4 separate regions of the Homo sapiens genome follow, and all the other regions are linked to region 3. Evidence: promoter capture Hi-C in 16 types of primary human blood cells and fetal thymus (Javierre and others, 2016). All regions are on one chromosome and are shown on one strand. Each heading gives the region's core, a stretch centred on a gene start or on the middle of the fragment in contact. The rest is flanking DNA. Distances are from core to core; before and after follow the strand shown. Region 1 has its middle 110 kb from the start of LINC01894. Region 2 has its middle 97 kb from the start of LINC01894. Region 3 holds the start of ZNF521 (zinc finger protein 521). Region 4 has its middle 260 kb from the start of SS18.

What was found. Contacts are between HindIII fragments. The CHiCAGO score rates a contact against its expected background, and 5 or more counts as called.
Region 1: a fragment that was not itself captured here is called in contact with the fragment with the promoter of ZNF521 in region 3 in 1 of 17 cell types (endothelial precursors); the score reaches 5.1 in endothelial precursors.
Region 2: a contact is called between a fragment that was not itself captured here and the fragment with the promoter of ZNF521 in region 3, in 1 of 17 cell types (total B cells). The highest score is 5.6, in total B cells.
Region 4: a contact is called between a fragment that was not itself captured here and the fragment with the promoter of ZNF521 in region 3, in 1 of 17 cell types (endothelial precursors). The highest score is 5.5, in endothelial precursors.

The regions. Positions count from the first base shown.
Region 1 is chr18:24,870,988-24,876,452 of GRCh38, reverse strand. No RefSeq gene overlaps it. Among named protein-coding and RNA genes, the nearest start is that of LINC01894, 110 kb to the left of the region's middle. The HindIII fragment of the contact is 3,400 bases long and covers 1,257-4,656 here.
Region 2 is chr18:24,888,860-24,893,860 of GRCh38, reverse strand. No RefSeq gene overlaps it. Among named protein-coding and RNA genes, the nearest start is that of LINC01894, 97 kb to the left of the region's middle. The HindIII fragment of the contact is 3,137 bases long and covers 207-3,343 here.
Region 3 is chr18:25,348,367-25,353,466 of GRCh38, reverse strand. ZNF521 (zinc finger protein 521) reads left to right here and starts at 1,301. Exons shown (of 8, transcript NM_015461.3): 1 at 1,301-1,462; 2 at 2,520-2,560. The coding sequence starts at 2,521. RefSeq lists a silencer at 1,206-1,275. The HindIII fragment of the contact is 3,815 bases long and covers 542-4,356 here.
Region 4 is chr18:25,825,859-25,831,066 of GRCh38, reverse strand. No RefSeq gene overlaps it. Among named protein-coding and RNA genes, the nearest start is that of SS18, 260 kb to the left of the region's middle. RefSeq lists enhancers at 2,469-2,968, 2,969-3,470. The HindIII fragment of the contact is 500 bases long and covers 2,757-3,256 here.

The sequences.
Region 1 (5,465 bases), core at 1,707-4,206, 480 kb after region 3:
GGCCCAATCTGCTGAAATGTGATTCAGCTTATGACTCAAACTCCATCACTATTAAAGAGCCACATTGTCACGTTCATTCGTTTGGCCCTGCATTTGGTCACGAAAGGTCCTTTTTAAGGTTCTCTCTCTGTTTTCGGCCCTGGCTCTAGCCCTGGGGATGTTCATTCAGCAGAGCACAAGGAGTGCCCTTGGGCCGATGGGGCAAAAAGACAATTCCCTTGACCAGGACAGTGAAGTGTCATTTGTGCTGTGGCAGCACAGAAAAGGGACACCCTGAATGGGTGGCAGGAGTCAGGGAAAGCTTCCCAGAAGAAGGGACATTCAAGCTGAATTTAAAAGGGTGTGTGTGGAACTGAGTAAAGAAGGAGATGTGCATTTCAGCATAGCTTCATAGAAGAAGCATAGAGTAATGAAACCACAGCTAAGTTCAAAGTTGTTGTTCCCCAGTGGCCTGAGGGAAGGGTGTGTGTGGGGTCGGGCAGAGAGAGCATCAGGGAACAGAGAAACCCACATGTGGAGCTCCATGGTTCCTCAAAGGCACAGCTTTATGACCTACTTTATTTAACATTTGTCCAGCACCTGCTTTGTACAGGGAACTGTCTGACATGCTGTGGCCTGGAGGGATTGAGAGGAAAACCATCTCTGCCCTCAACAATAGACACACAGTGAGTGCCTACTGCATACCAGACAAGCTTTTAGGTTCTTTCCTGTGGCTTTTCAATTTAATCCTCACGACAAACCTGCAAAGTAAGTATTGTTAGCTCAATTTCACAAATGAGGAAACTGGAGCCCTGAGAGGTAAAAACTACCTATTTAAGATCAAACATCTGGTTTGCAGCCAGCTGGGATCAGAACTACAGAGAAGACACAAGAAGTTTATGACTCAAGATTTCCATTTATACCATACCAGATAGGAGAGGAAGAGCAGGGAAGGAAATGTAAAAATGTGGGCGGTTCTCCCTCTGGTCAAGCCAGCCTATCGCTTTGTACCAGGCAGGAGCCCTGGGCCCAGACTCTCTGGAAATTCCTATGTGGACACGTTCCAGGCAGGAAAGCACAACAAAGACAGTCCCTTTGTTTCTCCTGTTGCCCCCTTATCCCCATGCCCTTTCCTGAAGCTGCTCCTGCCTCTGACCTACATGGCAGTAGACAAGGCTTAAGCCTTCTCTTGGATCCTTTAAATTCCCACAGGTGGTCCTTTCCAGTTATTCCCACTTCAGACATTTCTCAAGCTGAGTGGAGGGAGGTGGAAAGCTTCGTACGCAGGAAAAGAAGGGAGATAAAGAAATTAGGAGGATTCTGAACACTGGGTTGTGGTTTCCTTCATACAAAACTTGTTTCATATTGGTAGTCCCAGATTACTTTTCAAAATATTAGGTTGGTGCAAAAAAATTGTGGTTTCTGCCATTACTTTCAATGGCAAAAACCATTGATTACTTTTGCACCAACTCAATAGTAAAATCCACAAGCAAACACATATATCTCACTCTGTGAAGGTTAGTCTCCTGCCAGTAGCCCTCACTGGGTTTACCAACTCTATTGTTATCCCCTCCCCCTATCTTCTCTTAACCTGATACTAGAAGGCCCAGTAACTAATTATGACATTCCCACAAGAAGGGAAGAAATGTAGTCCCACTAATAGAGAAAGCAGAATAAAGGAAAGGATAGTCAAGGACTTCTCGAAACAACTAAAAATGACAAAGCTGGCTCAGAAATACAGTGTTTTATAAAGTAGAGACATTTATTAAGCAACGGAAGGTTTCCATATAAGTTGTAAGTATATGAAAAAGTCCAAGGAAAATAAAGCTATGGAGACAGTCGTAAAGCATGCAGGTATTGGCTGGACATTTCTAAAACACTATAGGTCTTACTTATTGCTATGGTTTGTATGTACTCCTCAAAGTTCTGTGCTGGAAACTTAATCCTCAATGCAACAATGTTGCAAGGTAAAACCTTTAAAACGGAATTTGGTCTTGAGGGCTCTGCCTTCCTTATTGTAAGAGTAGGTGTGTTATAAAAGCAAGTTTGGACCCCTCTCTCTTGCCCATGTGATGCTTTCCACCATGTTATGATGCATCAAGAAGGCCCCCACCAGATGCAATCCCTCAATCTAGGACTTTCCAGCCACCAGAACCATGAGCGAAATAAATTTCTGTTCATTATACATTACCCACTCTCAGGTATTCTGTAATATCAGCACAAAATAGACTAAGACACTTATTTATGCCTGGATCCCCCTGGTAAAACTTTCCTATGCCTGATTTTTGCACCCTGAGCCCAGCTGTGCAAGGTCACACCTCTAAACCTTGTCTAGTGCTTTATTGTCTCAGATAGTGTGTTGTGTGTTTGCTCATTGCCTCTTTGGTCTTTGAGTTCTCCAGTATTCACAAAACATTGTATTTCTGAATCTGTAATACTTCACATCACAGAGGGAAATAGAAACGGAAGACGCTGGAGGGAACATGAAGGGAGAAAAAGACAGGAGACTTTGTCAGGAGTTTTAAACTTTCTTATTGAGTTAGAAGAAGCCCTGGGGAGAAGATGTTTTAGATGTTTGGGCCTTCTGGGTTCACCGTTGCCGCAGAGAAGAAAGAGTGTGGTGATTTAAAAGTGATCGAGACACGCAAGGGACTTAAAGAGACGACTGGAGGAAGGTGACTCTCTCACAATTGCTCTTTTATGTGGGCATTAAGGCTGTGACCAGTATTGTCATCATTTACAGGATATGTTGCCTTCAGAAGGCATGAGAAATCTTGGCCCCTTTGACTATAGGAAGAGAAAACTTTCCAGCCTTTTACCTAAAGTCCTTTATTCCATGATTCACAGCATTAAGGAAAGAACTCAGGCACTTAGGGAAAGAGATTTCCAATTCATGCTGCACTCCTAATTTGCTCTGTAAATTTTAGCAGTTTCCCTTACTTTGGTGATTTTACAATATTAACCATTTGCAGTCAGAGCAAGAATTACAAGGAAAATCATAAATACTGAGGTGGTAAGCATACTTGTGGCGTTGTCAGTCAAGACATTCTAATATGGGGTTTCTGACAATTAGAACAGGGCACCTTCTCTGACCTCTCTCTGGAGCAAAGGACTCCAGGGTGGTTGGAGATTCTGACAGTGCCAAAGGGAAAATGAGATGAAAAAATCATTTTTCCAGTTAATTAATTTCCAAGAAAACTGTATCTGCAGTTTCTATTGTGCCCCCTCCCCTACCATAAATACTTAAGGGTCAATGAAAATGATAGTACGTGATTTGTTACCAACTTTATGAACATCGGTAGGGTCAGCCTCAAAGATTGCTCAGTTTAGCATTTACCGTGATGCCTGGCATAAATGAGGTATCTGTTATGGGCTGAATTGCGTGCCCCCAAAATTTATCTGTTGAAGTTTGAATCTCCAGTACCTCAGAATGTGACTGTATTTGGAGACAGAGTCTTTAAGGAGATAATTAAGTTAAAATGAGGTTGTTAAGGTGGACCTAAATACAGTGTGACTGGTGTCCTTATAAAAAGAAGAGATTAGGACATAGACACACACAAGAGGAAGACCATGTGGGGAAACAGGGAGAAAATGACCATCTACATCTATAAGCCAAGGAGAGAGGCCTCAGAAAAAAAAAATAACCTTCGGACACTTTGATCTTGGACTTCCAGCCTCCAGAACTGTGAGGAAATAAATACCTTTTAATTAAGTCATCCTGTCTATGGTGCTTTGTTATGGTGGCCCTAACAAACTAACAGAATGCCTACAATTGTGTACTATGTGAAAAAAAGTCAATCAGATGATAAAGGAGCACTCCTAGAAAACCTTAAATCTGTAGACATGATGGTGAACAGTTGACACTGTGAAGTGTGGCCAAGGGTTCAGGACTTGTATGACCTCAGCCAAGTTCGCTAACCTCTCTGAGCATGGATCCCTCTTTTGTGACGTAAGGATAATGATGCTGGACTATATAATGTTTATTTATAGAAGAAAACCTGAGGAACCTGATAGGCTCTGAGTATATAAAAATGAATAACATTGTCCCTATTCTTGAGATGTATAAGGTGATTCTAATTAAGGAGAGAGAGAGATGTCCACAAATGCATAACTGCAACACAAAGAAGGAATACCTGCTTCGAGAGAGATATGTACATGAGCTTCTACAGAAATATGTGCACCATGTTAAGGTCATATCCAATTAACTTTTGAGAGGGAGGGTCAGAAAAAATGTCCCAAATGTAACAATTTAGCTGGGTCTTAAAGTGTAAGGTCACATAGCAGCAGAAAATGAGACAAGAGGGCTTTCCCATAAAGAAGCAAGTCAACAAGCATGGGTGGCTAGAGGGGCAAGAACAGTAAAGGGCTCAAAGGACAGTAAGTAGTTAGTGGTGACAGGAGTGCATCACTGAGATTGGCAGAACTTGAGACAGGAAAGTTAGGTTGATATCAAAACATGAATTGTCTTGAATGCCAGGATAACACATCTAGGCTTTATTCTATTAGACATCAGGAATCACAGAAGGTTCTGAAGCAAGGAGGTGATATGAATGGATCCGTCTTTTGGAAGGAAAGCATACCCCAAAGGCAGTGTAGTGAATGGTTACAATGGGAAACATTTGGAAACGGATAGCTGAGTAGGCATGCCATTGCAGTAGCTCAGGTACCCGACAAGCTTCAGGAAGTCAGAAGGATTGTATTGGATAAACTATGTGTTCAATAACACTAATAAATGTAATTATTTTTTAATGGAAGCAGATTTAGGGCGAGAGCTTGTCAATTCATGTCAATGCTAATTAAATTTTCTGAGAGGTGGTGAGAAGTTAGTTAATATTATAACAAGCATGTGATACCAGGTAATTTTCTCAGTTGCAAATATCTTTCTTCATTTAACACCAAAATAACTGCTCATTTTGATTGAACAACCAACCAATATGAAGAGAGAAGTAGAGTTTTGTCAAAATGACTTTTCAATGCGGTTCTATCTTATTTTAATCTTCACTGTAACCTATAATCACTTTTGGTGGCATTATGACAGATATGCTGGCACATGTGGCAGACTATACTGAAGGTTTCAATTCCACAGGTATTGGTTTTGAAATTTCATATATTTAGAAATATAAATAGCATTAAGTTTTAAAAGACAGAATTGTATACATTCTTTACCAATATGTTCCCCTCTCTCTTTGTATCCCTCACCCACCACATAGCAGAATTTCTTACTACGTCCTCTGTGTTCCCAAAGCCCCTTGTTTGGTATTGCATGGATCACTGTGGGAAGAAATAAACATAAGCCTCTGTTTCCATTGTTAGATCACAAGCTCCTTGTCTTCTTCATCCGTGGCTCCCCAGAGCCTAGCACAGTGCCTGCCTGGCCACAACAGATGCTCAACACTCAGTGACTGAATTGCTTTAATGTTACTCCCAGGATGGATTGTGTGTGCATGCATGTGTGTGTGTGTCTCTATGTGTGTGTGTGTTTTTCT
Region 2 (5,001 bases), core at 526-3,025, 460 kb after region 3:
GTCTTTTCTCTTCTGCTGAGTGAAATTGCAAAAGTGAATGACAAATCAGGAAGTCAACTTCTTTCATGGGTCTGAAAAGAGGTATCTTCTTTTTGTCAAGAAGGTAGAAAGATAAGACAATGGCTCTCTTCTTTCCCAATTGACTGTGACCTTCCTCCCTTGCCCCATGCCTATGTTCTACAGAAGGCAACCTCAGGGATAAAGCTTCCAGTTGAATTCTTGGCCTCTGTGCTGAAAATGCCAACCAATGTCTGGCAATGCCTGTTCTGATGTGGACTGGCCAGTGAGCTGAGACCATCGCTTCATTTCACATAAACCATAAAATAGCCAACAGATGACCAGTCATTAGACTTTCGGTCACTACTGACCCAGCCTGGACTTGAACCTGTGACCTCTAGGTAAACAGTTTTAGGTTGCAATATTAATGCCTAAAGGGTCTAGAAGCCCTCAAAATCCTAACTTTTTAAATTAACACTTTTGTAGTTAGTCACTGAGGGAAGAGAGTAAATGAAAGAAGACATGAATACCTGATTTCCTTAAGGGAAAGAGAAAAACTAGTAGAGGAGAAACTTGGTCTTACACGACTCAATAGATGAAGCTGTTACTTTTTAAAGCTGTTGCTTTTTAAAGCATGGTACCATTGGAAAGGTGGATGCCACTTACTGTCACTCTGCAGTGCTATTTGAAACACCTGCCTTGGCCTTAGCTCTGCTCCATTGATTGTCTTCATTTGCTTGCTTAACAACTGGGGGTGTTTATACCTTCGTAAGAAAACCACTTTCCTGAACAGAACTGTGATAATGCAAGCTAATTATCTTATCCCAAAAAACTCTCAAGAGTTTAAGTCCACTGCTTTGTTAAGTCATTCTACCCAGACTATGAGGTTGAGAATAAATACTATTGTGCCCATTTTACAGATAGGGAATCTGGGAAGGTCAAAGGCTTAATGCAAACTTTGTTTCCACAAATCAAGAGAGTCCTAGTAATGAGACAAACCTGGTTTACCTCTAAGTGCTGTCATGTACAAACCCTGTCACCTTAGGAAAGTTATGCGTTGTTTCTATTTCCTCATCTATAAATAAGGACAATCATATCAATAGGAATTTTGTAAGAGTGAATGAGACAACACATATAAAGATCACTACACAGTGCCCAGCTCCACAGGGCTACTGCTCCACACAACTCCAGGCAGCTGCACATTCATACCACACACAAAGTTGACTGGGCAGGGTGGCTCACGCCTGTAATCCCAGTACTTTGGGAGGCTAAAGCAGGTGGATCAATTGAGCCCAGGAGTTTGAGCAACATTATGAAACCCCATCTCTACAAAAAAAAAAATAAATAAATAAATAAATTAGCCAGTGTGGTGGCCTGTGCCTGTAGTACCAGCTACTCAGGAGGCTAGAGGTAAGAGGATCGCTTGAGGCCAAGAGATTGAGGCTGCAGTGAGCCATGATCACACCACTGTGCTCCAGCCTGGGTGTTGGAGTGAGACCCCGTCTCAAAAATAAATAAATGAACACAGTCTGAATAATGCCCCCTGGAGTTATGCAACTCAACAGCCATGCCAGCCACACCAGCCACAGTCTGACATGGAATACCTTCTCACTAAGTATTAGCTATCATTATTAGTTTGGAAGTTTTTCTTCTGGCAACAGCAAAGTAGGTGGTTCAAATCAACTCTCTCTGACCACACGATAATATATGAAAAGAAACACTGGGTTGAGGACATTAGAAAGTCACCAAGGCAGTGAGAAATCACACTGCCAAGATCCCAGAGAAGAGGGAAGCCCACTTAAGACTGCTTTTTCCCCGGGACAGTAGTTCTCAGAAAGTGGACACAAAGCAGGCAGCAGCACCTGGGAACTTGTTAGAAATGCAGAGCCTCAGGTTCCACCCCAGATCTACTGAATCAGAACCTCTGGGCGAGACCCAGCAAGCTATGCTTTAACAAACCCTTGAGTGGATTGTGATGACCCTAAGGTTTGAGATCAGCAAGCTACAGGCACCTGAAATTCTGAAGGCACAGCTGAGACCCTGAGAAGCTGGGCAGGGATTTTGATAGTCTTGAGGCTCTGGGGAGTCTGAAATAGGGGTTCAAGCTCTGTCGAGAAGGAGGTGTCCTGGAAAACACCCCAGGATATTAGTTGGGACCCCAAGACCACACCAAAGAAGGAAAAGTGAACTGGAAATATAGGAGCCCTCACAGGGACCAAAGTTTCTTATCTCTCAATTCCTGGGACTTGCTAGCCCCTCAACCCAGCACCTGCCAGTAGCAATGGCAAACATTTAATCAAAAGTAACTGAGCGCTCACTTCTCTCTTGCTCTGTTACATCACGCATACTGGGGAAGTCAGCTGCATGTCAGAGAAATTGCAAGCCCTATGGAGAATCCATGTACGGAGAAACTGAGGCCTTGGCCTTCTACCAATGGCCAGAGGAGTGAACTAACTCCTGCAGCTTCAGTCAAGCCTTCAGGTGGTGAAATTCGGGCTGATACCGGAGTCCAAGCCCAAGGGAGAGCCTAACAAGAACCATCCAGCTAAACTGCACTTCAACTCTGCTCCTAACAGAAACTGTGAGATAATAAATGTTCATTGTTAAAATAAAAAACAACTGGACACACAACCAAAAATACTAGGCATATGAGGAGACAAGACTTGACCAACAACCAAGATTTTATCTTAAAGGCAATATAAACAAACCTGTAGGCAATAGAGTTTTTAGACATACATTTAAAAAGTAGCTATGCTTGTCTGGGAGCAGTGACTCATGCCTGTAATCCCAGCATTTTGGGAGGCTGAGGCGGGAGGATCACTTGAGGTCAGGAGTTTGAGACTAGCCTGGCCAAAATGGTGAAATCATGTGTCTACAAAAAATACAAAAATTAGCCGGGTGTGGTGGCGCATGCCTGCAGTCCCAGCTATTTGGGAGACTGAGGCTGGAGAATCACTTGAACCCGGGAGGTGGAGGTTACAGTGTGCGTGAGCCCAGATCACACCACTGCACTCCAGCCTGGCGACAGAATGAGACTCCGTCTCAAACAAAACAAAACAAACAAAAAAAGCTATGCTTAATTGTTCGAGGAATTATTACTATTTCACCCTAAGTTCAAGATCACCCAACTCAAATGGGCCATCAGTCCTGTCCAACAATCCATACACATGATTTGGTCAACTCAATCTCTTACTTTCTATGGCTGTACAAGTCATCTCTATGCTCTCTCATCCCCACTCCCTGCTCACCCTTCACTTTCGGCATATGACCTCACCCACTTCACAGAGAGCAGAGGCCGTCCAATAAGAATGCACTGGCTTCTGATCTACAAATCTACAAGTAAGCTTTGCTTCTCTCTTTTTATGATAGAGGAGCTGTTCATCCTCTTACCTAAAGTCAATTCTTTGTCCTGCACTTTACCCTTCATTCCCTCACATCTTCATAGAAACCTTACACTATCAATGATTCTTTTACTTTCATATATGCAGACTCTCTTTCTCAAGCAAACCTTTCCCATTGAACTTGTTAAATCATCTTAAGTCACATTTAAAAATACTTGCCAACTTCAGCCCTGCCTCTGTCTTCCTTCCCTTCACAGAAAACTTTCTAGAAGAATTTTCTTATGCTTACTGTGTCCTTCGAGTACCACTCAGTACCCAGCTGTCTCCAGCCAGAGGTCTGTCCCACGTCTTTAGGAAAATGGCTCTTGTTAAGGTCTCAGTGACTGAATTCCATGAACATTTTTCAGCTCACTTCTTCCCTGTCTTGGCGATGTTCCACAGTTAAGCACATCACCCTTCCTTAAGCATTCCCCCCTGGTTTATGTGGTATTCTCCTGATTTTCTTCTTATCTCTGTCATTTCTAGTTGTTATTCTCCTTTTCAGGCAGATTCTTCACTGTCTCATCATTAAATGTTGGAATTTTGTAGGTCTTGGTCTTTGACTCTAGTTTATGTAAACTTTTCCAGATAAGCTCATCCAAACGTACTGTTTTAATCGCCATGTATACGTAACTTATTCACTGACCGTGTATACATAACTTATCCAGCCCAGATCACCTTTTTCCTCTCAAGACCCATAAATTGAACTACCTACTGGATCTTTTCTTCTGTGTCTAAAAAGCCTGATATCAGACTCAACAGGTCCAAAACCAAACTCATCATCTTTCCTCCCAAATACGGTATTCTCCAAAGATTTCTTCTCTCAGTAAACGGCCCCCATCTATCTAGACGTACAAGCTAGAAACCTAGATGTCACCCTTGAAACTTCCTGTGCATCCCATCCTGCCTATGACTGAGTTGTTCTAAATATTGAGAAGAAATTTATCTTCTAAATATTTATCCAAGGTGGCTCCTTCTCTGACTTTATCACTACCACCCTAGTCCAAACCACCTCATCTGCCTGACCTCCTGCCAAGCTGACAGCTTTCACCTTGCTCTTAAGAAAAATCCAAACTTCTTACTTAATGTGGCCTTCACGGTTCTGCACGATTTGACCCCTACCTATCTCTCCAACCTCATCTCCAGTATCGCTTTATCTCCTTCTCAATCCACTGTGGACTCCTTTAATTCCATTGTTCTTGCCATACTCCTTTCCATCACAGGGCTTTTACATGGGGCTAGAATAGTATTTCCTGCCCCCTTCAACTAGTTAATAGCAAGTCATTCCTCAGATCCCTGCTTAATTGATTATTACTTCCTCAGAGAAGCCTTTGTTGATTTTCCTAATTAAATAAAATCTCTTTATTATCTGTTTTCATGAAATGTGTCCTCTGTGTCACTCTTTAGTGGCACTCAGTACAGTCTAATTGTGTATATATATGTATATACGTATGTATATAAGTACATATGTGTATACGTGTGTATGTATATATAGTAGTATATATATAATAGTATAGTAGTATTCTTATACTTGTCTGTTTGTGCTGACCACTATATATTCAGCATGTTTGTAGTATATAAATACTCAATAAATAATCATTGAATAAATGAATACACAAATGAC
Region 3 (5,100 bases), core at 52-2,551:
GCTATCCACATGAGGGTCCAGGCAGTTTACAGGTTAGACTGGAAAAAATACAACTTCCTTAAAGCTTTGATGTCTTTGCATGGTGGCTTAATAGATAGCTGTACCTTAATTTTACAGAACGGAGAATTTTTAAAATCTGATTAAGAACAATAGTATTTGTACAAAATTCTGCCTGTTTTGTGTAATTAACCGTATTCTGAATCTCTTAATTTCCACCAAGACTTGTGAATCTAAGCTCTACTTGGTAGCCCTCTCAGGCATTTATAACTTGACAAGCGTGTCCAATCAATAAATAGCAACAACAATAATAATACTAAAACATCCTTTCCCTTAAGATAAGGTAAAAGAAGGAAACAGGTGATGGTTTCTTGTTTTGCGATGGGAGCAGGTGAAAAGTTAGAAAACAAAACTGCGAAAAGAAACAAAAATTCCCACCGACCTGCAGACATTTCAATTTATTTTAGAAACTATTTTCTTGTACACATATTCTTAAGTGCATATTTCCTTACCTCTTGCTTAAAGAAAAAATCAACAGAAAGCTTTATTTTCTGGACAAAGATCTATGTCAATTTGAGAATGTTAAAAAAGTGAACTCAAAGCTGTCTCTTTTGAATCACATTATGACATTCGTCAGCATCAATGACTTTCTCTAAACGAGAAAATAAAAAAAAAGTCCAAATAACTTGCCTTTATAAAGATTCCAAGTAAGAGAGACTTGGCAGGTCTGCGGTTGCCATAAAAAAGATTTCCCGAGTCCGGGCAACAACAGCAGACACACTTTTTTAAAGTCCGACAATGCAAAAGCCAAGCAATGAATTTCCCCCCTCCTTTCTTTTTCTTTTTCTTTTTCTTTTTTTTTTTTTTTTTTTTTGCCCCCTCAAGAACAAATTGTTGCCTCCTTTTACATCCATCCTACCAGAAGGGGGACCTTTCCACTTTCAGATGCTCCTCTGCTTTAATTTCTGAAGAGGAAAAAAAGCGAGCAGAAGAGCCCCGAGATCCGCCGTGGAGCTCTAATAACGCAGCTGCGGCGGCGGCGACGGCGGCGGCGCGGGGTGTGCGAGCGGCCGGGCGGGCGGCGCGAGGGGCGGCGGCGCAGGAGCGGGCGGGGCGCGCGGCGCGTGGGAGGCGGCGGCGGCGGCGGCGGCGGCGGGCGGGGCTCGGGGCGCTCGGCCGCCGCCTGGCTCCGGATCCGCGCGCCGCGGCCGGCGCCTCCAGTCCGGGTCTTGGCGGGCCCCCTCCTCCCTCCCGCTCCCCGCGCTCTCGCCTTTTAATCATGCCCCTCTGTCTGTGTGTGAGTGCAGGCAGGCTGACAATGATTTCCTCAGTGATTACGTACAGAGCGAGTCCCTGCGGGTTAGGGGCCCCCTCTGGAGCCATCCTGATGGCTTTGGGGGCCTTGCTTCCATTTTCCATTATTATGTGGACTACCGGAGCGACAGCGCAGTCCAAGACCTTGCAGGTTTGTGATGAGGAGGGAGCACACAGCACACTCCTTCTCCTCCTCCTGCTCCCGGCTCTCCTCCTCCTCCTCCTCCTGCTCTCGCCGCCGCTGCCGCCGCCGCTGCCGCCGCTGCTGCCGCCGCCGCTGCCGAGGCAGCCGTAGACTTTAGAGCCCCGGTCCAGCGCCAGCCGCCGGCGCCGCGCCCCCGCCCAGAGAGGGGCGCCCCGAGCCCGGGCCCCGCACACCCCCTGCACACAAGCAGCCCCGCACACCACCTGGGGGCCGTCGGCTCGGGTGCTTTGGCTTTTTCTTTTTGAAAGAAATTACTTTAGTGTGGGTTAAGAAAAAAAGGGTGGGGGGAAGGGAGAAAAAAAGTATTTTTTTCCCTTTGCTTATTTTCGTGGCCCGTTCGCATCTGCCTCGGATGGTGGGAGATTTTTCTTTCCAAGACCTTTTCATCGCCTTGCAGGGTCGATTTCCCCCCCTCGTCCCCCCAACTACAAAAGAGCACGACTCGCTTTGTAAACAAATCAGTGTTATTTGTTTTTTTCCGGTGGGGGGGGGGGCGGATTTGTTGAAAAGGAAAAGCGGTAAAGAAAAAAAAAATCACCCAGACGCTTTTCTTTTTATTAGTTTTTTTCTATTCGCATGAACTATGTGAATTTTGATTGAGGTGGAAATAGTAACGGATTTTCTCTTTTTAGTGTAGCTGACGGCTCTTCAAACATTGTCTTTGGGGTTTTTTTTTTAGCTTTTTTTCCCTCCTTTCCTTTTTTCTTTTTCCTTTTTTTTTTTTTTTCTTGGAGATTGGGGGTGGGGGTCGAAGGCTGGGAAAGTTTGGTGCAGCAGCCGCCGCCGCCGCCGCCGCCGTCGTGCAGAGCGCGGAGCTCGGGCAGCCGCGAGCCCCGCGCGCGAGCGCGAGCCGGAGCCGGAGCGAGGAGCGGAGCGCGGAGCGAGGGCGCGAGGGAGGCCGAGCGGAGGGCGCGAGGCGCCGCGGCCCGAGGGGCGCGCGGCCACGAGGAAGTATAGTTTCTTTCAGGGCTGAATTGAAACAACTTCAGCTGTTTGCTTTTAGGATGTCTCGCCGCAAGCAAGCGAAACCGAGATCCCTCAAAGGTAAGGAGGAACCCCCTGCTCCCCGCTTTCCCCCATCCGCGAGTGTCACTGTGGGTAGCGGAGCGAGGGCTGCGTGGCTGCGAGGCGTGTGCGCGCGTGAGTGTGAGTGTGAGTGCGGGGGCGCGCGCGCTCCCCTCCCCGCTGAGCCCCTAGGTGGAGTGAGGGTGAGGTGTCGGGGTGGGGGGAGACGAAGACGGGAGGAGGATCCCCGAATGGGGCGGCGGTAGAAAGTGGGCGAGAAAAGACAACAACAACCGAAAAAAAAAAAGAGAGAGAGAGAGAAAGAAACGAAATTATCCGGAGAGGGAGGAAAAAAAAATATCCCGTCTGAGATCTACATCTGGGCTGGAGGAAAAAGTTTCTGTTGTGTGTTTTCGCAAAGAATAAATATGCAAAACCGTGCGGTGCTTCTTTTTTCCTTTTCTTTGGAAGAAGAAAAAAGTCATCTCGGAGGTGGGGAGCAGCCCCCGCTCGTGACAAACGTGGCCCGGGGTCCCGGCCGCCGCCTCCCGCCCGCCCGCGTCCTGCTTGGGTCCTCTCCGCACGTCGCCGGAGTAAACAGACCCCGGCCGCCGGCCGCGGGCACCGGACCCCGGCTCGGGCCTCAGAGCACCCCTCTTGGCCATTCCCAGAAGTTGACCGCCCCTCGCCCCTACTTCTCCCCGCCGCCCCTGGAGTCCTTTGCGTTTCGCGGTGGGGTCCAGCTCTCCGTCGTCCCTGTTGGAGAGGGAAGTTGCGGGGCGTGCGTGCGGGATTTTGGGGGCGCACTAGCTGGCTGCGGCGGGGGCGGGGGTCCCTGAAGTTATCGATCTGATGGCTGTGTTGGAATGTGGCGAGGAGAGTCACGTGGCGGCCTCCTCCTCCTCCTCGGCCGCCTCCTCCACCTTCGCGAGCCTCCTTCCGAGGAAATCGGGGGCGGGCGGCCGAGGGGAGCCGCGAGGTCCGGCGCTCCGAGGCGGAGAGCGGGGAGGGCGGGCGGCGGAGCGCGAGGGCCGGAGGAGGGGCGCGCGGGCAGGACGGGGAACCGGGGCGAGGGCCAGGGGGCCAGCGCTGGAGGCGGCCGCGGCCCCCGCGACCCGGAGGCGGAGGACAAAGGGCGGCTGGTGCGCCCGCCCGGGCCCGCTGGGTCCCGCCGAGGTCCGCGCGGCCCGGCCCCGCCCTCTGGTCCCCGGCGGCGCAGCATCCTCTTCCTCCTGGCTGCCGGGCCGCGGCGCCCCGTGGCCCCGGTTCCCGCACCAGCTTCCCGACTCGCCGCCGGCCCGGGGAAAAGGGGTGGGCAGGGCCCGGCGCCCCACGCCTCCCGGCCCCCGGCCGCTGTGCATTTTTGAACTCGATGAACGGAGCCCTCACCGCACACACAAAGCCCTTTCTTTCTTCTCCTGGGAAGGGACGGGGTGGGGGAGGGCCTCGCAGATTGGAACGCTTGCTTTTTTCCTAAAGCGCAGAAGTTTTAGTTCGGGAACGAGGTGAATCATTGGCATGTGTCTCCACACAGTGTGTCTGGTGGTTTCCGTCACATGGGCCCCTCATTTTTCTGGGGGAAACCTAGACCCAGGGCCTGAAAGATCCAAGTGTCGACAGTGAAAAAAGAAACGCCACGGGCGTGCGCGGGTGTCAGGGTAACGGTGGACCAGGCTCGCGCCGGCGAGACTTGCCCGAGACCCCGGCTTTCTTGAAAGTAACGCTGAGCGAAGTACCAGGACAAACCTCTTCCTAGTCACTTGGAAAGAAGAACTTTCCGAGTTGAAGTAGGATAGCGGTTAGTGCCTGTCCGGTGGAAAGGGCTCCAAGAAGCTTCTGAAACCCCGTGAAGGAATTTGGGAGGGATTTTTCTTTTCAAAAAAAAAAAAGTTTATTAAAGTTTGCACGATTGGCAGTTTTGTTCACTCGCAGCTTCTGAGCATTTGGTTCACCTGCTTTTGGAGTGAATTTACAGCGAAAGTTTGGTTGACTGTGAATGCGTTTGTTCCCAGTGCTTCCTGAAGATGATTTCTTCTCATGCACGTAGGATTTTATGGGCAGTAAAGGGAATCCGTCAGTTGACGGTATTCGCTGGGCAGGTTTGATAAGTCGAACTGCAAAATACCTGTGCAGTTCTTAGGTTAATAAGCAAAAAATGGCAAGTGAAGAATGAGTAAAGAGGACATTTTATTCTTTTATCGTCATGTTGCAAAATTATCCAAATATCTTCCCCACAAAGACAGCATCTGTTTCAACTGCTAAATTCTAAATAAAATATTTACACTAAAAACAAAGATTTAGCTTCCATATTCTGTGTGGGCGCGGAACACAGTGCTGTTCTCTCCTATCAGCTGCTTGGACAACTCCCAAAAGAGCGAATGGCCTCAGGTGGGCTGGCTGGGCTTTTGGGGATGAGAAGCTGAAGACAGGAATAAAAATAGTACAGTCCTCACTGAAGAGCGGATTGTTTTTCTTCAGGGTATGCCTTGAAAAATTCATATGTAGATGAGCTATACCAAACGAATCATTTTGATATTAGTAGCGGTTTTGAAGAAGAGGAAGGGCATTCTGGGTGGCTC
Region 4 (5,208 bases), core at 1,757-4,256, 480 kb before region 3:
TAGAGCTCTGGGCAGTTTTGCTGCCTGTAATCTTGGCTCAGGCTCTGGCCATCCAAGGCTTGGCTGGGCTGGAAAGTGCAGATGACTCACTACATGGCTGGCCTTTGAGACTTGCAGTCCAGGTCTTTAACAGAATGAGAAGCATGGGTAGCCCTAGGCTGTGCCTTGTGTAGTTCAGGACTGGTTTGGACCTCTGTCTGGGCCACAGTCAGACTAATCTCAGCCAGTAGACACGTGACTTGCAGGAGATTTCCTTCAAGCTGAATATATATATAATATATATAAAAATATATAAAATATAAAATATATAATATATATAAAATATATAATATATTAAAAAATATATATATAAAATATATATATTTTGTAATTGGTTGGTAGGGCTACAGGGCACCCAGAACTGAATGGGTGAGTACTTCCAATGGCTATCTTGCACACTCACCCTTACTTCAGCCTTCACTAGCTGCTTTAGAAATCACCATGGTGTATATTTTCTCTCTTTCACTCATGTGCTTTCTGTCTTCCGTTCATGGTGACCAGCAGTGAGAAGATTTGGTGGAAAATGTGTATATCGTAAAGGAAACCCATTAATGCTCAACCATTGCCACAATTGCCAGTGCTCCCCCACTCCATCCAGCTAACAAGAACTGTTAGTATCTTGTTTGCCCTCTTGTTACAATCCATAAACGTATGTGGAGTTTGCACAGTTAATCTTGGAGAGCACCTTGCTAGATATGGTGAGAACCAGAAATAGTTCTCCACCCTGAAGGGCTTATTGTACCATAAGGGAGAAAAGACGAATGTACAAGAAACTTTATCATGTTGTGATAAAGAATGAGGGCTGTAGGAAAGTTACAAAAACTCCATGTTGTAGGAGGTCAGAGGACAGAAGAATTCCACTCCCGTATTCTGGCTTTGACTCTCCTTCTAGCTCTAAACAGATGTTTACATTTCACACTCCACTTTCCCCATATAGATAATAAGGAAAACATAACTCCTTTTACAAGTATCACCGAGGAGCAGTGAGAGTCTGTGACAAGGTATCTGTAAAGGTTTGGGATTTTATTTTTGTAGAGTCCAAACACATCTTTAACCTTACAGGTGCTTGGGATGGAAAGAGGAGGTAGAGTGGTTTAGATATGTGTATGTACATGTGTATATGTGCGTGTGTGTGTGTGCGCATGTGCATGTGTGTGACAGTCATGCTCCAAATGAGGCCTCAGGGGGTAATAAAAAGAGGGCCTGCTGGGACCACCAATTTCTTTTTCCCATCTGTGATGGCTGGGGCCCTGTGCTTCACACTGGGAAGGGTATTACTGAACTCTCCTCAGTCTTGTGGTGCGGTCGCCTTTAATTCATATTTGCATGTGTCGTGAGACCAGCCAGGCAGCTGAACACTGCCCAGGAGTGGAGCTTGTGATGATGGAGAGAAATGAAATCACTGTTTAATGAGAATTGGTGAGATAAGGTCCACAGATGGACCATTCGGAGGGCTGTGTTTGAACCACGGTATCCCATTCATTTTATAATACACCTTACTGTGGGCTTAAATTGCATTCTTGGAAAATTTAGCCCAGCATGACTAGTTCTTGTTAGAATAGCATCACTCACCTAATGTTGTGTTCAATAAGCCTGTTGCATAAAAGGTTATCATGTAATTTTTATCATTATAAGTCTCCAGTGCTTCCAGAACTTACCTTCAAAAGAGTGAAAATGATATTTCATATATCCACAGTTGTATTTCAAAGTAAGTTCTAAAAAGCCACATGCCTCAGTTTACCCTTTGGAATTTGCCTATCTTTTTTTTACAGCGTTATTGTTATAAATCAACTTTCTAAAAGAATATACCAGTGATATTTGCCTATAGCTTTCAAGCTTTGATTAATGTTTTAATGGTGTTTGTCCCTATTTTAATCCATGTAGTATATTGAACTAAGCCTGGGGTTTAGAGTTAGATGAGCTAGGGTCTGAATCCCAACTCTTCCCAATTACTAGCTGTGATGATGGTTAAATCACATAGTGATTCTAAGCAATCATTGTCAATGGAGTTGAAAGGATTTAAATTAAGGTAGGTACAAAAGGCATAGCACACTGCCTATCACATAGTATGTACTCAATAATCAATTTCAGCTATTATTATTGTCATCAGTAAGAATGACAAAATGTGTGCTTTAGACCTCTAAACAGCTTGACTAGATCTTTCTCTGAAAATTTCACCTTGCTTTGTTTCATTTGTATCTGCAGAGTCGCTGTTCTTATCAGAAGAACCATTATGCACAGCTAATTTCAGGTTCATGAGTTCTTAAGCACAGTGGGAAACTAATAAATCAATTAAACATATATTTCATAAGAGATTGCTATATTTATATGTGCATACATAAATATAATTTTAACAATGAAAAGTAGCTTGTCATGAATAGTTTATTTCATGAGATAAAAATAAAAGGAAAACAATAAACACTACTTCAAAATGCAATGCTATGTAACACAGAAATGAAATTCCACAAGATCTTGTGGTTCTCTGTGTTACATTCAAAAAGAGTAACAGATAACAAGATGGCTGGCCACAATGTGAGATATACTGTTGGAGAAAATTGTCCAGTGTTTTGAAAGGAAAGGAAAAGCCTTCTAGGAATTTCTCATCACAGAGAATTTAGACTGAAGGAATTTGCCACGGTGTTTTCTGAATAGCCTTAGAATTTTATATTGGATTTAAAAATTGGGTTAGGGAGGGAGTGGCTCCTCAGAATGAAGCTTTTCCAGGCTCCCTTTTACTTTGTTTTTGCCTGGGGCATTATTTTTTGTTTGCCAAGACCAGCTGCTTCCTCGCTAGCCAGGTTTCCGTTTAGTGGCCCAGGGCGGCTTCTCTGATGTCGGGGAATTTGCCCCTCTGAGGTTGGAGCGGGCAGCTGTGTGTCCCCAGGCTGGGCGAGGGGGCTGAGCTGCCTGGAGGCCTGGATGGCTGCATTCTGCTGCCGCACTTTCACCGGTATCTCTTCGCGGATCTTCAACAAATGTGACCTCTGCCAACCTCGTCTGAGCTCATCAGCTCTGCTGCCTCTGGGACCCAGGAGGGAGACAAAGGGGGCTGGGTCAGCGTTGGATGCCAGCTATTTTTTTCCACATGGTCTCTGGGAACAGTTAACTAATCATATCAGACCCAAAAATGATTTAAACCTTTCCTAGCTACTAAGCACGGGAACTGTTGCTGGCACACAAACAAATCCCAAACTATCTCAACATGATAACACAAGCTTTTTAAATTTTAGAGTAAAATGTATCATTAATCAACCATCAACAAGTATTCATTCATTTATTATGTGCTGTGCTCTGTGATGTGGGGGAGACAGAGTGGAAAGCTCAGCCTTCTCTGAACGAGCAGGTTGGATCATTGTGGGTAAAGCTGGTCCTCCACCCATCCTGGATGGACCCCTTTATTACAGAAATGTTGTTAGGGGTTGAATTGCATCCCCTGAGATTTATTTGTTGAAATCCACACTTCTCCCTCCCCTGTACTGCAGAATGTGACCTTATTTGGAAATCGAGTTGTTGCAGATACAGTTAGTTCAGGTGAGTCATACTACAACAGGGTGGCCCCTAATCCAATATGACTGGTGTCCTTATAAACGGGGGAAATTGGGACACAGACATGCACACAGGGAGAATGCCATGTGGACACTGGAGTTATGTTGTTCTAAGCCAAGAAACTGTCAGAGCTGGAAGAGAGGCGAGAGCAGATCCTTCCCCAGTGTCTTCAGAGAGAGCAGGGCCCTACTGACACCTTGATTTTGGATTTCTGGCCTCCAAAACTGGGCGAAAACACATTTGTGTCTTTTAAGCAACTATTAGTATTACTTTGTTATGGCGTCCCTAGCAAACTAATACAAATGCGAGGCTATGTGTCCACCCAATTTTATTGGGGAAAACTGTCAGCTTGCCACTGACTTGGAGCACAGTCTGGGCAGCCTCTTCTCCGTTCAGCTGATGCTCAGCCCCAATGTCACCACTGAGACGGGCCTTCAGGACTGCCTTACCTAAGCAGGCCCTGCGCTCTCCATCCCAGCACCTTGCTTCATTTCCTCTCTGACTCATCACTACCTGAAACAACCTTGCTTATTTTTCTTGATTTTTAAAAACTGTCTATTTTCCACACCAGAGCTTCTGCTCCAGCAGGCTTCTGTCAGTCTGTCCCATGCTTGGCACATAGTAGGTGCTCAAAAAACACTTGTTGCAAGAAGAAACAAATGAAGAGGTAAAGCTTCATTTGGGAATATGATTTTTTGTGTGTAGACAGAACTGTGCATCTGGGCACTGCTGATCCCACCCCCTCCCACCCCCACTTCTTTCCTTTTCTCTCTGTTAGGGCTGGGAGCAAAAGTCTGGGCTTGCTGCATGGACACAGACAACACAAGCCTGAGTTGCTCTTGCTCTGCTGTGGATGAGTGTGGTTTTGTTTGGTTTCACACTTCATTTTGTCTCTGAGCTGCAGAGGACAGCTGGTCAGCTCTCAGTCCTGCTTTGCCACCTCTTGGAAAGGAAAGGCAGTGAGAGGAAACTAGACATGCCAGCCAGGCTAAGGATGAGGGCCTCAGGACTCCCACATGGAAGAAACCCACGGAGGAAGGAGGTTCTGCCAGATCTGCCTCCCTGTGTTCACAGAGTCTCTGGACCTCTAGGTGTTGCACCCAGGCTTTTGTAGTTCACTCTTGAGAGGAAGGAGCTGCCAGGCCCCTGGGCTGTGTAGGGCCAGGAGTGAAGGCTGGGGGCCATGTGTGGGCATATTTAAGCCAGCCAAGGCCTCAGAAAGTGAGGAAGGGGGGCTTTGGGAGACTTCGACTTCCTGCCTTTGAACCTCAGACAAACCTAAAAGGCCCTCGGAAACACTATTTGCTCACGGGATGATAATGTGGCTGTGTTTGTGTTCACCAGCTAGTGAGATATGGAAGGTTTGGACTGAAATGACAGGCAGTGGGTGGAGGGGCCTCCTGAGGAAATACTTCAGATAAATACTTCTGGGATAAGATCCTTGACCAGGGGTGAAAGTGGGAACAAAGATGGAGAGGTTTACATAGACTATATGCTGATTAAATACTGTTTTTATTTGTATGTGATTTACGTTTTACCTACTTCCAAAAAGGATTGGAGGGGGATGACTAGTTGAAGGTGAAGGATGAGGTAAGAATGACTCCAAGTTCTCAAGCCTGAGTG